2 separate regions of the Homo sapiens genome follow, and region 2 is linked to region 1. Evidence: promoter capture Hi-C in human tissues and cell types (Jung and others, 2019). All regions are on one chromosome and are shown on one strand. Each heading gives the region's core, a stretch centred on a gene start or on the middle of the fragment in contact. The rest is flanking DNA. Distances are from core to core; before and after follow the strand shown. Region 1 holds the start of TBL1XR1 (TBL1X/Y related 1). Region 2 overlaps LOC105374235 (a long non-coding RNA gene).

Evidence for each region. The method cuts DNA at HindIII sites, captures the fragments that hold promoters and counts their contacts. A contact is called where the count stands out against the background at its distance.
Region 2: a fragment that was not itself captured here is called in contact with the fragment with the promoter of TBL1XR1 in region 1 in 1 of the 25 tissues and cell types used here (dorsolateral prefrontal cortex).

The regions. Positions count from the first base shown.
Region 1 is chr3:177,192,619-177,200,204 of GRCh38, forward strand. TBL1XR1 (TBL1X/Y related 1) reads right to left here and starts at 4,864. Exons shown (of 16, transcript NM_024665.7): 1 at 4,503-4,864. RefSeq lists enhancers at 1,082-1,672, 4,441-4,950, 4,951-5,458 and silencers at 3,906-3,955, 4,436-4,535, 4,646-4,835, 5,076-5,455. The HindIII fragment of the contact is 7,362 bases long and covers 2,955-7,586 here.
Region 2 is chr3:178,316,702-178,324,287 of GRCh38, forward strand. The region is part of intron 2 of LOC105374235 (a long non-coding RNA gene); the gene reads right to left. Among named protein-coding and RNA genes, the nearest start is that of LINC01014, 99 kb to the right of the region's middle. RefSeq lists a silencer at 3,266-3,466. The HindIII fragment of the contact is 4,460 bases long and covers 443-4,902 here.

The sequences.
Region 1 (7,586 bases), core at 3,614-6,113:
GTTACTTAGGAAATGGAGCTATCAAATCCTTCCTATGACATTATGCCCCTACTAAAATAAATAACAAGCAAATAAAATGTAATACAAAGAAACAAACTTCAAAAATCAAACCTATCAGGAGCAACTTACACTTACAGGATGCTTAGAATGTCAACCATTGTTCTAAGTACCTCTCACACACTAACTGGATCTTCTTAACTCTATGAAAGTTGACTGTCCCCTTACACTGATGAAGAAACAAACACATTAGGGCCAGGCGCAATGTGGCTCATGCCTATAATCCCAGCCCTTTGGGAGGCCGAGGCAGGCACGTTACCTGAGGTCAGGAGTTCGAGACCAGCCTGGCCAACATGCTGAAACCCCATCTCTACTAAAAACACAAAAATTAGCCGGGAGTGGTGGCAAGCACCTGTAATCCCAGCTACTTGGGAGGCTGAGGCAGGAGAATCACTTGAACCCAGGAGGCGGAGGTTGCAGTGAGCCGAGATCGCGCCACTGCACTCCAGCCTGGGCAACAGAGCGAAACTCCGTCTCAAAAAAATAAAATAAAATAAAATTTTAAAAAATAAATAAAACGTATGAGGAGCTACTACCCCAACATCACAGCTAGTAAAGGATAGAGCCTGAGTTTGAACTCACTTTAACCACTATGCTACAACACAAAGACTTCAATGATTTTTCTTACACAAATTTTTTGTTTGTTTGTTTTTGAGAGGGTGTCTCCCTCTATCGCCCAGGCTGGAGTGCAATGGCGCGATCTTGGCTCACTGCAACCTCCACCTCCTGGGTTCAAGCGATTCTCCCACCTCAGCCTCCCGAGTAGCTGGGACTACAGGTACCCGCCACCACGCCCAGCTAATTTGTGTATTTTTAGTAGAGACGGGGATTCACCATGCTGGCCAAGATGGTCTCAATCTCTTGACCTCGTGATCCGCCCGCCTTGGCCTTCCAAAGTGCTTGGATTACAGGCGTGAGCCACTGCACCCAGCAAGACTGCATCTTATTAAATGGTGCTAGGGAATTCAGCACAATGATATGAGTTCTATCAATTTCATTTACCCATGTAATCACTCGACCCATTTAGTACAGACGCTCAACTATAGATCATAAACTTGATTAGAAACACAAGTTTTTGGAAGGATGATCTACACGGATCAAGACTAACAAAACAGCTGGGAAAATTCCGCAGATTCAGTCATCTAAGACAGACCCAGGTTTGAATCCTAGTGTTCATTTAATAATTTTGTGGCCTTGAACAAGGGAATTAACTTCTTTGCATCTCTGTTTCATCATCCACAAAAAAAGCCCAACACTATCTACCTCATAGGATTAGCCTAGGGTATAAACAGCATAGAAAGCACCTCACACCTCCTAGAGCATAGCCCGGAGCACCTAGTCCCTCTCCTCTGGCTCTATGGTTACAGGGCAATTAATTGCACTCTTACCGAATCCAATCCCAGAGGGGTAAACAGCCAAATCTCTCCAGCATCAGCGCTCTCAGAGTCTTTTCTTTTTAACTTCAAGTTTCTATTGGTGGCAGAGCAGGAGATACCACCTTCGTGGTACCTAAACTGAACGATACTCAACAATTCTTTACTACACAGCTCTAGGGTCCTAGCCCTCCTCTACTACCAGAATGTCTGAGCATAAAGTATAAATGTCTCGTGTTAGCTGCTTTCCTTTTTTGCATTTCAGTGACTTATACTGTAAATGTTATTTGTGAAATGAGTCCAATTCACATGCACTAGAAAAATACAAGTTCTAGTGAATACCAATGTTTCTGCCATGCCTCTCCCCTGACTTCCTACCATTCACATTCTTCTTTATTCTTTTTATATAAATGACACCAAAAATTGAACAAACCCAACAAATTATTTCAACCAACTTCATCAAAATGTGTCAAGTCAGGAATTCTTTATAATAGTACTGCTACAAGTTGTACTAGGGAGATTCCTTTGTCAGCTACTCGTCTGACAAGGTTGTATATATACTGCACTGATAGATTTAATCAACAAGTTGATGTTCAAAAGGTCTATTAATACATTTCCTTTTATCAGTACCCCTTATATTTATATTACCTTCTGTTAGCTTGAAAGGCTCCTAGAACACAGGAAGCAGTTACCTCTAATTCTTTCGGGAGACTGGTGTCATGGTAATCATGCAAAACCTTTAATTAGGTGTCGAGAATACAAATATCAAAAAGATTCTTAGACATACGTATTAAAATGCTTAACACTTCTTTGAAGCAACCAATGCAAAAATATCATCTCTGCAAGGGGTCACTCCATTTACCACCAGTGTCTCCCACATTAATACCCAAAGCTGGTATACGTTAAAAGAAAAATGTCATAAACTGACGGTGAGCTTTGCAACAATTTTTATGCCATTAACATGTCACTTTATTAAGTTCCTTAGCAATAAGAAAAACTTTTCCCAGGCACGTAGTTTTCGTCCCCCATACAGTTTAGTATTTTGTCCTGTAGGTCGGATTCCAACAACTCAAACGTCAAAAAAAATAGTAGTTATTTATGAATTTAATGATTGCGATTACATACATCTCAGTGCAGGATAGGGTTGAAAAAAAAAATCATATTCCAAACAAGAAAACCTGGATTTAAGAGCAAGAAGCCTAATCACACATCACACGCCTAACTGCTCTCAGGCATACTTTCTTCCTGCAGCCCCTCCCCCACAGGTAAATGCTAACTATTTCTAGAACTCTCAACTATTTGGGAAGCTTGCCATCAACTCCCATGATACCACCCAACCCACACCATGTTTTCGGGGAGACAAAGGTGCCCTACTTCCCCAGACTATAAACTATTAAAATGGTGAGAACATACAATCCCAGGAAGTCGGCATTACTAAAATACATCAATGTAGCATGGGTCTTATTTTAACAAAAATGAAAATGAATCACACTGGAAAACCCAAACAGTCACTCATTGTATCTTCAACGTGTAATCGAAATTATTTATTCCAAGTTATTTCAGGTAAGTAGATGAACACACCACGAGGGCCTTATTATCCAAACTGGTGAAGAAGCCTTTAGGAAAAACGGAGGGGGAAGATCACTTAATTATATGAGGTGGGGGGTAGAGCAACCATTCAGTCTTAAAATTCAAACTAAAAATAACCTGGCATTTTCACCCCCCACATTTTATTAACAAGCTTGTTTAGATCAGCATACGGTTCCTGTTTGGAAAACAAGAAAGTGAATAGTAAACTTTCCTAAGTCAACTGTAAATCACATAGGTACTAAAACTCTTCACCCCTGGTGCCTGCACAGTCCAAGATTTCAAGTAAACTCCAGACACTGAGAACACCTAATTTTTAACTAGTTTCCAACATTTCTCATTTGTAATCACCAAATTATCTTAGAGACACTTAGATAACCTAACAAAGAGAGCATTTTTTAAAAGCCACAACCCAAATTTTACATGAAATACACCATTTTCACAACCTAAATTTAATCCCGGTTGCCACTGCGAAGTGATGCCTGTTTCAGCAAATTAAGAACTTCCAAAAATACTGAACACGTTAACACATGCATGGCTTCCCTCGAGCTGCCATTTAAGATTAATATTCCACTTAAATAAAAGTCTGCTTCTGTTCAAAAAATTAAATCGGTTGCAAAGAGGAAGTTACCGAGAAACCACCCTCACAACGTGGCCTTTACACTGTCAGAAAATAACGTGACTCTGTGCCACCCAAAACTTACCAGGAAGCTGGCAATAACTTTGCCAATTCTACACTCCTGAACCCAACTTCAAAGAGCCTCCACCAAATACCTCCTTAAGACGATAAAAAGCACTAAGTTACAAATAAACACGTCCCGGAGCAAGGCCCGGCTGCCGCGCGCCCCTCCCCCGGCCGGCGCCCCCGCCCCGGACGCGCGGCCCCAACAGCCGCCCGCAGCCCCCAGCACGCCGGCCGGGGTCGCCGCGCCCGGGCCGGGGACGCGCCCGGGGAGGGGAGATTTCCATTGCCGCCCGAGGTTTCACAAAATAGCATGCACCGAAAAGCTCCTTCTCCTCTGCTAAAAATAGGCTATAAAGGAGTCGGCCTCATGATGGCTCCTTGATTCAATTTGCTGCAAATCCTTTCCTGAAAGCCTCCCCCCCCAAACACACACGCACAAAAAGGGGGTGTAAATGCACGAAGGGAGGAAGAGGGGGAGAAGGCCGAGGTGCACATTTTCGGGGACAACATAATTAGGGTGAGGATCCCCCGAGACCGGGAAAGGGTAGGGGGGTGGGCAGGCACGTGAGCATTTCAAAGAAACCTGAGAGAGGAAAACGGGGGGATGGGGGCGCCCCAAGTGCCCTCCCTGCCTTCCCTTCCCCCACGCAAGCCCAGTTCCCCCAAGGGCCAAGTTGAAAAATGCATGTTCCACTCGCGCCCATCCCCCCGCGGCCCAGCGCCCCCGGCCGCCTCTGGCCCGCGCCCCCCGCCCAGGCCCCCGGCCGCCCCCACTCCAGGGTCCGGCCCCCAGCGCTTACCTGGAAACGGTGGCCTCCAACGCCGCTCCCCCCTCCCGGGAATGGAGGCACAAGGAAATTCCCCTCCTCGCCGCCGCCGCCACCGCCTCCAACCACCCCCAAAATAACCCCTCCGGGGGGTGAGAGGCAATTATAACCCCAGCGAGCGGAGGGCGCGGGGGATGGGCGCCGGGCGGGCGGGGGCGGGGAGCGCGGCGCGGGTCCCCAGGTGGCGAGCGGAGGTGCTCCCGCCGCGGGGGGAGGGGCGGGGGCGCACGCGGCCGGCGGCGGGGGGAGGCGGCGCGCGGGGGAAGGGCGCGAGCGGGGAGAGGAATTGAGGCAGAAGGTAAAAGCTGTTACTAAGGGAAAGAGCCAAACGGTTCGGAGCAGCCAACGGCTCAGACACTCAACACTGGGGAGAGAGGAATGGGGACCAGCCAGGCACAAATGAGCTCGCGAGGCCCGCGGCGGCGGCGGCGGCGGCGGCCGCGCAGCAAAACAAACCCGAGCGGCCTGCGCCGGGCGGGCGGGCGAGCGGGCGGGCGGGCGCGCGGGGGAGGGGCCGGCGGGGGAGGGGCGCCGCGGACGCCGGGAGGCGGCGGCGGCGCGGCGGGGGGGCTCCAGCGGCCGCGCTCCTCTCCTTCCCGGCCCGCTCTGGCGGCACTGGGGGCTGGGCTGTGCGGCGCATTCTTTTAAAAATCAGGCGAGCCCCGCGGGCACTCGAAGGCGCCTCGGGGCCCCGGGCCGCCCGCCCCGCCCCCACCGCCGCGGGCCGGCCTGGGTGTGCTCGGGTGTGGGCCGCTGGGCCCGAGACGGGTGGGGGCGGGGAGGCCCGCGCGGTGGCCGGGGTGGAGCCGCCGGCGAAGTTTCCCCAAGGACGCCGCGGGCTCCCGCGTGTCCGGGGGGCGGCCCGGCGGCGTTGGGGGCTGGGCGCACACGCGGCGGGCATGTGGGGGAGTGCGGCGCGGCATCATATGGACATTTGTTTGTGAAAATCTCTGTGAACACCTTTGTGTGCGTAAATACATATGGTTCTCCGAAGCGTACCTGGAAAGGTGCTTTATCTGTAATAAGCGACTTTCAAAATGTGATCCAGAGCACGGGATCTGGAGAGAAAACACGCACACAAGAAAAGGTTTTTGATACTAAACACAAAGCTGTAATTGAAGTATTTATGCCCAAATGTACTGTGAATCAAGCATATGGTGGTATTTATCATCTGGTGGGTCTGTTTGAAAGGTTTGCTCGATCAGTTCTTATTTCACAAAAATAAAATAATGTAACTAAATGTTTACTAAATATATACCTGCACAGTGGCATCCACAGTAGAAGTTTATCCACTTTGTGTACTTTTTGCATGTGTGAAGCACAGCAAGGCGGTTTATAAAGTATAACTTAGATGAGTGATAATGTGGCAGTATGGTTGAGGGAGGGTTGTTTTTAAAGAAGGGAGGCACCTCACAGGTTTTAAAGCAAATGGGGTGGTAATCTTTCTAAGACTTTCAGAAAGATGGGGTAGGGTGCTTTTTAGAGCTTTGTATAAGCTCAGGACTGGAGAAGCAGCCACCCTTTTACATTAAGATACGACTTGAAACCTTTTTGTTATTTCGCTTATTACTGCCTTCAAAGCAAAATAATGTTTGCAGCTTTCTTAAAGGTGAAGGGTTCTGTTTTCCTACTTTCATCAGAATATTTGAAAATAGATGTAGTGATCACTTTAAAGCAACCATCATTTCCTCTCAATATCAGAAACCTGAAGTTTTGCGACACACACACACACACACACACACACACACACACACACACACTACTCGTAACTTGCACCAGTCTGGACTCCTGGTGGCCTAATAAGTTCAGTAATTAGACAGGTGCTTTCTTGGCCAAGGTCAATGTCTCTTTCCCCCCTGAGCCCTTGCTTGGGGGAGCTGCCAGAGGCCTTTCCTGAATGACCTAGTGGGGCAGGGAGCAGGAAAACCATCAGAGGAAAGGGAGTGGGATTGGAAACTCCCTTCCAACCACCAGAGAGTTCAAAGCATATTAGTGGTGTGTCCTTAGAGCTATTTTCATGTATGAAAGTGGGAATGTTGGATTAAACAATGTCACCCGATGGGAATTTAGATAACTGCAGGTTTCCAAAACACTATGCAGAGTGTACAGGGAAACCGCACAAAGCAAGTTTTGCATTTCAATAGGATTCTAAAGCTGAGGCTTGTTTACCTCAGAACTAACACCTTTCAGAAGACTTTATTTCAGAATTGAAAAGAGTATATAGTATCTTCCTTTTTTTTTTTTTGAGTTGATAAATGACGTAGATATCACTAAACATACCCTGTCTTCAGTAAGTAAACTATCTCGGTGGAGCCACTCAATGAAACATATCTATTGGCTTAGATTATTTTTTAAGTTTCATATTGTGCCACCACGGGCGGGTCCTCTCCATACAGCAGTGACTGTAAAATCAAACCCCACTTTCAGTGAGTGAGGACTTCTCAACCATACCATTCTTAAAGCGTCATATTCAAAGCTGCCCACCCCACCCCTTCTCCTTCCCCTAAATGACTTCTATCCCTTATTCCACAAGGGAGGAGACACCCTCCTTCAGGTTCATAGGATCAGGTCTTCCAGCCTGAAGTTCTTATACCCTACACCAAGCTGCCTCCTAAAGTTGTTCAGTGTTAGTTGAGCCTCCTCACAATGATAATAATCCATGCATTTGTTTATATCCCTGTAGTTTACAAGACATTTCTGTGCGTAAATGACTGCATTTAAATATGAAGATCATCGAGGCTGGGGACTTACAAATCCGTTGCAGTAAAATGTACTTTACTCACCACTGTTGGATCATACTAATTGAAGAGAGAGGAGAGAGCAGGAGTACATTTTTTTTTTTTAGGTGGAGTTTCGCTCTTGTCGCCCAGGCTAGAGTGCAATGGCGGAATGTCGGCTCACTGCAACCTCTGCCTCCCAGGTTCAAGCGATTCTCCTGTCTCAGCCTCCCGAGTAGTTGGGATTACAGGCATGCACCACCACGCCTGGCTAATTTTGTATTTTTAGTAGAGATGGGGTTTCTCCATGTTGGTCAGGCTCGTCTCAAACTCCCGACCT
Region 2 (7,586 bases), core at 1,423-3,922, 1.1 Mb after region 1:
ATATATAATATGTGGTCTTTAAAAATTTATAAGATTATAAGATCAGTATAATACCTAACCATACTGAGCTATTATAAATACACAGAAATGAGATAATATGTGAAAATCCCTAGCATAGTAACTGACATAGTATGTAGAATCAAAATAAGCTGAATGAAATGAAGCTCTAATTTATATTTATAATGTTACAACCCTCTGCAAGTACCAGAAGGCTACCCAAACAGCCTCTCCAATATCTAGGCCTTGGAGACTAATGAATCCCAAAGAGAATTACATAATGTAATGGTATCTTGATAGCTGTCTCATGTCTTTCATCCCAAAAAGCTGATCATAGATACTCTCCAAGCCCTCTATGGCTCCATACAACTTGCAGTAATACACAAAATTGAATACCCTCATAGTGAATGGCAGCTCCTCAGCAAGCTCACATTTTCTCCTTTCTGTTGAAGGAAATGTGGCCCTGCTGAGGAGCAGCAATTCAACATGAAGAGGTTTCTCATGATTCCAGCCAGCATTTGGAAGTACAGGGGGCAAGCATGATTGATCCAGAGCAATTCTAGATTATTAAGGGGAATGGGCCCTCAAGAGCCACTATCTTTTTTCTCCACTCATTTGAAAAGCCGAGTAGACTTGTGTTGCAGAGTACTTCCAAAAGAGAAGCCCTTCCTGCAAGAGATATTAATTTGTGATCAATAAAGCTAAAAGGGCCTCTTATAGAATGTCTAAGTGGGTCTCAATAGGTAAATCTATGCGCCACTTTCATTTCCTGTCAGTAAATAGTGTAGTAAAGCCAAAACGTTCAGTACACGTGCTACACGCTATGCAAAGAAAATGTTCCATTTCTCATCCTTTTTTCTTTACTTGGCAAATGGCCTCTTTAAAGTCTCAATTTAAATGCCTCCAATGTCTAAGAAATCTTTTCTGACTCCTCAAGGCAATAATTACCTTATTTACATTCATACAATACCCTGCTTATATCTCATCTTGTATTTCACTTATCACTAAATGTTTATCCTAATATTATAAAGTCCTTTGTGATAGAGACAACATGAGTGATATAGATTTTATATTTATGTCCTAACCTAGGACGTGAATCATTATAGAAATTCAACATATGTTTGGCCAACAAACAAAATAATCTATACAAAATATATGCAAATAGAGGAAGAATTCCCCAAATGTCAGAGATTCAGTCGGCATCACAGAAGTAGTAAACCTCAAAGATAATTAGTTTGCTTTCAAAACTTAGCATTGACCAGCAATCCTCTACCCCAACCACCAGTTGTCATAGAAAAAACCTAGCACATTTCATAATAAAATAGTTCTTTTGAGGCATGTTTATTATATAATGGAATCTCTACAAATATGATGGTTTAGAATTGTGTTCTCATAAAATAAAATAGGACAAGAAATAAAGAACTGCAGTATTTCAACAACCCAAGTTAATGGCCCAGACTCCTTTTATTACTACACATACAGAGAATCATCACTCTGTGAGTGCTGTGGAAAGAGAACCTCAGGAGATCTGATGCCAAAACAGGTCAGGTGGCCAATGTTTCAGCTTCAATGTAGAGAGGGTCTAATAATACAAGTTATTTAGCACTCAGTGTGTCCAAAAGCTCTTTACAACACTAAATAATCCATCATCTCCAAACTCCCTGCGAGATCGGTAAGAATTATCATTCAGTCTTTACAGATGGAATATTTGAAATGTAAAATAGCATATACAAGGCCAGACAGGAACTCAGCACCATGATTAAATAAAAACTCTGAGTTCCCAACATCCAAGCCTTGGCAAAGGAATTTGTCACATTGCCTTTTTATATATAGAGCACGGAAACCCAGGGGGGATGCATAAGAAAGAACTCTGAATTTTAAAGCAATATGGAAATATTTAATTCAGGCTGAAGTTAATAGGTAATCAGCTCAATTCCTCCCCCTCTTGCCTGTGAGTAGCTAGCTGTCAGACTGGCAATTTAGGTGACTTGGAAAAACCTACACAAGCTGAATACTGACAGAGGTGGGAACGAGAAAAATTAAGGGACAACGAAGACTTACATGCTGTCATCTATGCCTTCAGGGAACTTAAAAAAGAAGTATTAGCCCTAGCAATGCATTCACCTATTTGGGTTATTCTCTACACAGAATAGAGTTTCATGACCCATGGCAGAATTTTATAACCGATTTAAGGAAGTTGTTCATCCCAAGAGGTCTTCTTTGCTTTGGGCTCCTTGATTCACATTTCTTGTAGCATGTGCTTACATCATCCTGGCTCGATTTAATAACCAATCAATGAAAAACTAGGCATGTCCCACAGATCAGCACTAGCAAGGATTTGCATCTTGCCTGCTTCACAGAAGTCAAAGTTCAGTTTATAAATTCATCATATAGGAATCTGAGTCCTGACAGCCAAGACAGAGTATAACCCCAGGAAGTAATTTATCTCCCCATCCCCACAGAGATGCTGTAGCTTCAATAACTGATAACAGAGCTGTGGGATAAGCAAGGCATTGGTCATAAATGGAATGTTCTAGTCTGGTGTTCCTCATTTAGGTGCTTTTTGACCTTTGGTGGCTTCTGACATCATGAAATGAGATACAGTCGCTACCTGCTAAGGGACAGAGTGAAGAGGGATGAGAGGAAGTCTCAGTGATTCTCTGCTCAGGTGATTTGCAATACCAGAAGCCAGAAACTGAACTTTCCCAGGAATCTCTCTCTCACCTGCCTGTTTGCTTGATACACCATTACAGCTGCTCCATTACAGTTGCTCAAGAAGAAATGGCTGAAATGGAGCTGTTGCCTCTAGCTGACCAGAATTGGAATGCTCATGTGACCATCTGACCTTTTCTGACAGATAAGACACAGTAATAAAAATAAGAATATGCTTCTCATGTCTGAGTGCGATATAATTTGCATAGCATTTTCAGACACATTTCTGAAGGAGATCCTCCCTGTAGCCCTGGGTGGGAATTGGAATTCGGATGAGGTTTTTCTTTTCCATTTATTTATTTTATTTTATTTTTAGATGACAGAACTTAAGCCCATTGTGCTTCTGCGATTTTCCCAGATTAACACAGGTATTAAGTGGTTGAGTCATTTCCAAGCATTTTTGCACAATTAGCTATTTGTCCTGTCCCTGTCTCCCTGTCCCCAAACCAAAGCAACTTATGTTTATTCAAATGAGGTAGAGATCTAGATGACCTTCCAGGACCCTTCCAATGACACGTATCAGTCACCATATTAATAGCAATATATCTCTCAGAACTAGCCCAAGGATTTAGTAGATTTCCAGATTACTTTGGAAGGAGCAATAATTATAGTCTTTTAGTTGGAACCAGAGAATCACACTCCAAGAAGATTATAAATGGTCATAACTTATATATTTATTTCACTCTGTTGTGCCAAGAGCTAGCAGCTTACAATCCAATAGGGAAGATAGATATTAAATGAAGAAGTACACAATGCCTTAATTCCTACAGTGCTATTTAAAGGATGACAATACTCCCCTGGATACCAGCTAATATATGTCAAACTTCTTATCAATAAACAAATCACAGATTGTTAAGAGAAAATCATGGCAGAAAATAAAGCCAGTTTTGTAGATCATGATTTTCTCTATTGTGGAGTTGATAGAAAAAAAAAAGAGAGTCTGTAAACTACAGAAAAAAAAATATAGCTGAAAAAGTAACCCTGTGGTCTTCTTGCTAGTCACCACTTAAGGAAGTAGAGATTTTTCCAGACCCTTCTGTCACTCTGGGCAGGTGACTGACTTATAACTCAGGTGTGCATTTGCCTGCTTAAATCTGCCTCAGTTCCAAACAGCTTGCCATGCTCTATATATAGAGATGACTTCACCCTCTGTTGGAATGCAGCAGCTGTTCAGCAGTGCACACTGATATGCTTCAGAGACTTAGGCCATATCTAATTGAGCACTTCAATACTGCAGAGATAGGCGCCTTGGAAATATTTAGATAAAATACCTTTGGCCAGATGGAAGCCGGCCAGGATACCAGCATAAAATCTTCATCTCACAGGACTGCTAGTGAGCCTTGGCGGGGGGCTCCATGGAGGGAGGTGGCATCAGGAGAGATGCCAGTCTGTCCTATCCACCCCCTGCACTGTAAACATGACACAAAGAATAGTAGGAAATAGGAGAAATCAGAATTTTGTTGCTTCCTCCTTCTCCCCTTGGCAGACCAAACACAGCCTACCCTCTGTGAAAACAATCTGAATGTTAATGGTGCCTCCATGTCAGGAAGCTTCCCAGTTGTAATATTCCCCCACAGGACTGTCCCTTCCCCTAGAGGCCAGATTGCCAGCCCTGGAAATTGGTTGGCAGGTATAGAATCAATGGTACTTTTTAAACATTTATTTGCCTAGGATTCATTGCTAATCTTGCTAGGAGAAGCAACCAGCTATCACAGTTGGCTGGGAACTGGCCAGAAAGCACTTCTGGCTTTGCTACCCATGGTCCACATGACTCCAGCAAGCCTGTGTTGTGCTGGATCTCACTTTTCCCATCTGTAAACTTTAGAGATTGGCAGATTTAACTTCAATTTCTCTTCCAGCTCTAAAAGAACCTGTGTGTGTCTTTCACGACACAACTCCCTCTCCCATTCTTTTTTCTTAGAAGAAAAAGAAAAAAAAAGAAAAAACATTAGCAGATGATAATGAAAACATCTTGCATTTGCATGTAATCTATTGTTTAGATAAATATATCCACCTTTAAGCCAAAGTAAGTGCTATTATTTTCATTTAGAAGAATCAACAGAAACACAGAGAAAATGAGTGGTTTGCCCAAATCAAGCAATTAGAAAGTACATTTGAACTGGGTCTCTGTCTTATCAATGATGAAGGGATCATTTACACAGTAATGCAATTGCCTATCTGGATGTGTCATTTATATGGACTCAGAAAAAATATCGAGGTTAGGAATAATAAGTATCTAGCTTTGGGTCTTATCTATGCTTGGATTTAGGGGTTTGGAAATAAAACACACAGTCTGGCCCTCCAGGTTCACAGTGCAGTAGGGGCACTGGCCTAGTTAACCAATGCTTGCCTGCCATACAATGTGGTAAAACACTGAATAGGACATCAAATTTATACTTGGAGCTTTAGAGGGCTGAAGTCAGGGGAGGCTTTGCAGAAATGTGTATGTGCTACCCAGGCAGAAAAGGATAGTGGAGCAGGGGGCAGACAGTGAAGAAAGTGCTAGGGAGGTTCTACAAACAAATAGTGTGTGAGTGACTGGAGTTTAGAATGCTTGTCATAAATACTGGGCCTTTCACATAGCAAGATACACAACAATCGAATATTTGAACATCCAGGTGGAAAAGTTTATTGGCAGCTGGATATGAGAGTCTGACGCTCAGGGTTGAGGATGAGGTGTAAATACAAAAGCCATTGAGCCTCAATTTTTTATTGCATTTTTCTCTCTCCATTTCGAATATTTTAGTTTCTCTGAAGTGACTGAAAACACAGCAGTGCAAATGACAACCATTTCTAGACAGAGTCACTAGGGTGTCTGCAGTTTGAAGAAAGAAAGCTTTGTGAAATGTTGTATCTTTGAGCTAGGAGTTTGTCTATCTGCAATTATTGCTTTAAGGACATAAGTATAAGTTAGACAATTATGATCTAGAGGAAGGAGGATAGGGAAGAGAGTAAGAAACAAGGGAAACAAAGTTAAGGTGGAGCAAAGCCCACCTAGTGAGTGCTCAATAAGTTTTACAGAAATGCAGAAGTGAATGTAATCGTTTGTTCCTAATAAGTAGTGCCCAACAAGTTTCACAGAAGCTCAGAAGAGACTCAGGGGTCAGGTGTTGCTGTTCCATTGTTTTTAAATGAAGTGTTTGCTCAAGGTACTTCTAGAAATTTATTTTTAAGGCTTAACACTATCAGAAAACATTTCAAAAAGTGGTAAAAATTACAATTACTTTTTTAAATATAAGAAAAAACCTTTCAAAGTAGAGAAAATATTACGGTTGACCATTCCACTGCTCTAAACCAAAAATGAAGTTATAAAGCTTCTCAGTAACCTGTGTTTCACATCCCACACATCACCCAGTAAACTATTTTCTGAAGAAACAGGAGAATATTACAGAATAAAAAACCTTAGAAATGTGAAATAACTATGTGTGAATGTTGAGGGACACTCAGAAGAGCAAAACCCAGTGGATGTTAAAGAAAACATAATGGGTTTAATTATATTTAAAAGGCCTATTCTATTGCTATATACACTAGAGGAGCGTGAATATTTATTCTCTCCACTAGATATTACCATAATTTTAGGTAAGACAAAAATAACTCAGATATGGATTTTTCTATTATTGGAAATATATTGTGTTGGCATATCCTCACGTATTATCTTTAAATCCTCACCAAACACTGTGTAGTGGATATTATCAGTTCCATTTTAAAGTCCAGGAAAAACTCAGAAAGGTGAATTGTTTTATCAAAGTCCTAGCATATGTTAGAGTCCAGATTTGATTCCAGGCCACTGACTCAATATCCACCTGGTTACTGCCTACTTGTGTACAACCTGCAAGCCTATGAATTATGAATTCTTTTTCTATACAGTTAAAGAATTCAAAAGAGGAATAAATTTTGCAACATATTGAAATTATATAAAATTCAAATTTCGGTGTTCATAAATAAAGTTTTTTAGAACACAGCTACTCTCATTTTTTATATATTGTCAATACCTGCTTTTGCACAAGGGCAGAGTTGAGTAGTTGTGACAGATAACAAACAATACACAAAAGAAACAATGTAAATAACCATTTCAAGGCTCAACCAAATGTAAGGCTCAATAAATGCAACATTGTTAGTCTTTTATTTTTCAAGAAAATACTTGGACTATCATGATAATGACAAAAAAGAGATTCCACACCCAAAACTTAGTCATATGTTGTTATAGGAGGTAAGTACCTCCCAAAAGACCCATAGACAAAAATATAGCTTTTTTTTTTTTTTTTTTTGAGACGGAGTCTCGCTCTGTCACCCAAGCTGGAGTGCAGTGGGTGATCTCTGCTCACTGCAACCTCCACTCCCAGGTTCAAGCGATTGTCCTGCCTCAGCCTCCTGAGTAGCTGCGATTACAGGCACCCACCACCACGCCCGGCTAATTTTTGTACTTTTAGTAGAGATGGGGTTTCATTATGTTGGTCAGGCTGGTCTCGAACCCCTGATCTCGTGATCTGCCTGCCTTGGCTTCCCAAAGTGCTGGGATTACAGGTGTGAGCCACCACGCCCTGCCAAAAATACAGCATTTCTTATATTAAGAGAGTAGACTAGACTGATTCACTATAGCTATATTTTATGACATTATACCAATCAAACATTCAGAGTCTTAATTTCTCCAAGAAAAAAACTGTGATGCCTGGTCCAAACTTGAATAAGCACACGGAAACATAAAGACTCAGATTAGTTGCAAACATTAAAATCTTAGAACTCTTTTTATTTACTGCTATATATATATAAAATATATTAGTTTTACAAACATTTATAATTTTATGCTCAAGTATTGCTTTAGGCAAGGTGCCAGTTTATGGAATGCCTGCTGTCCCATGCTAAGGAGTTTGGTTTTA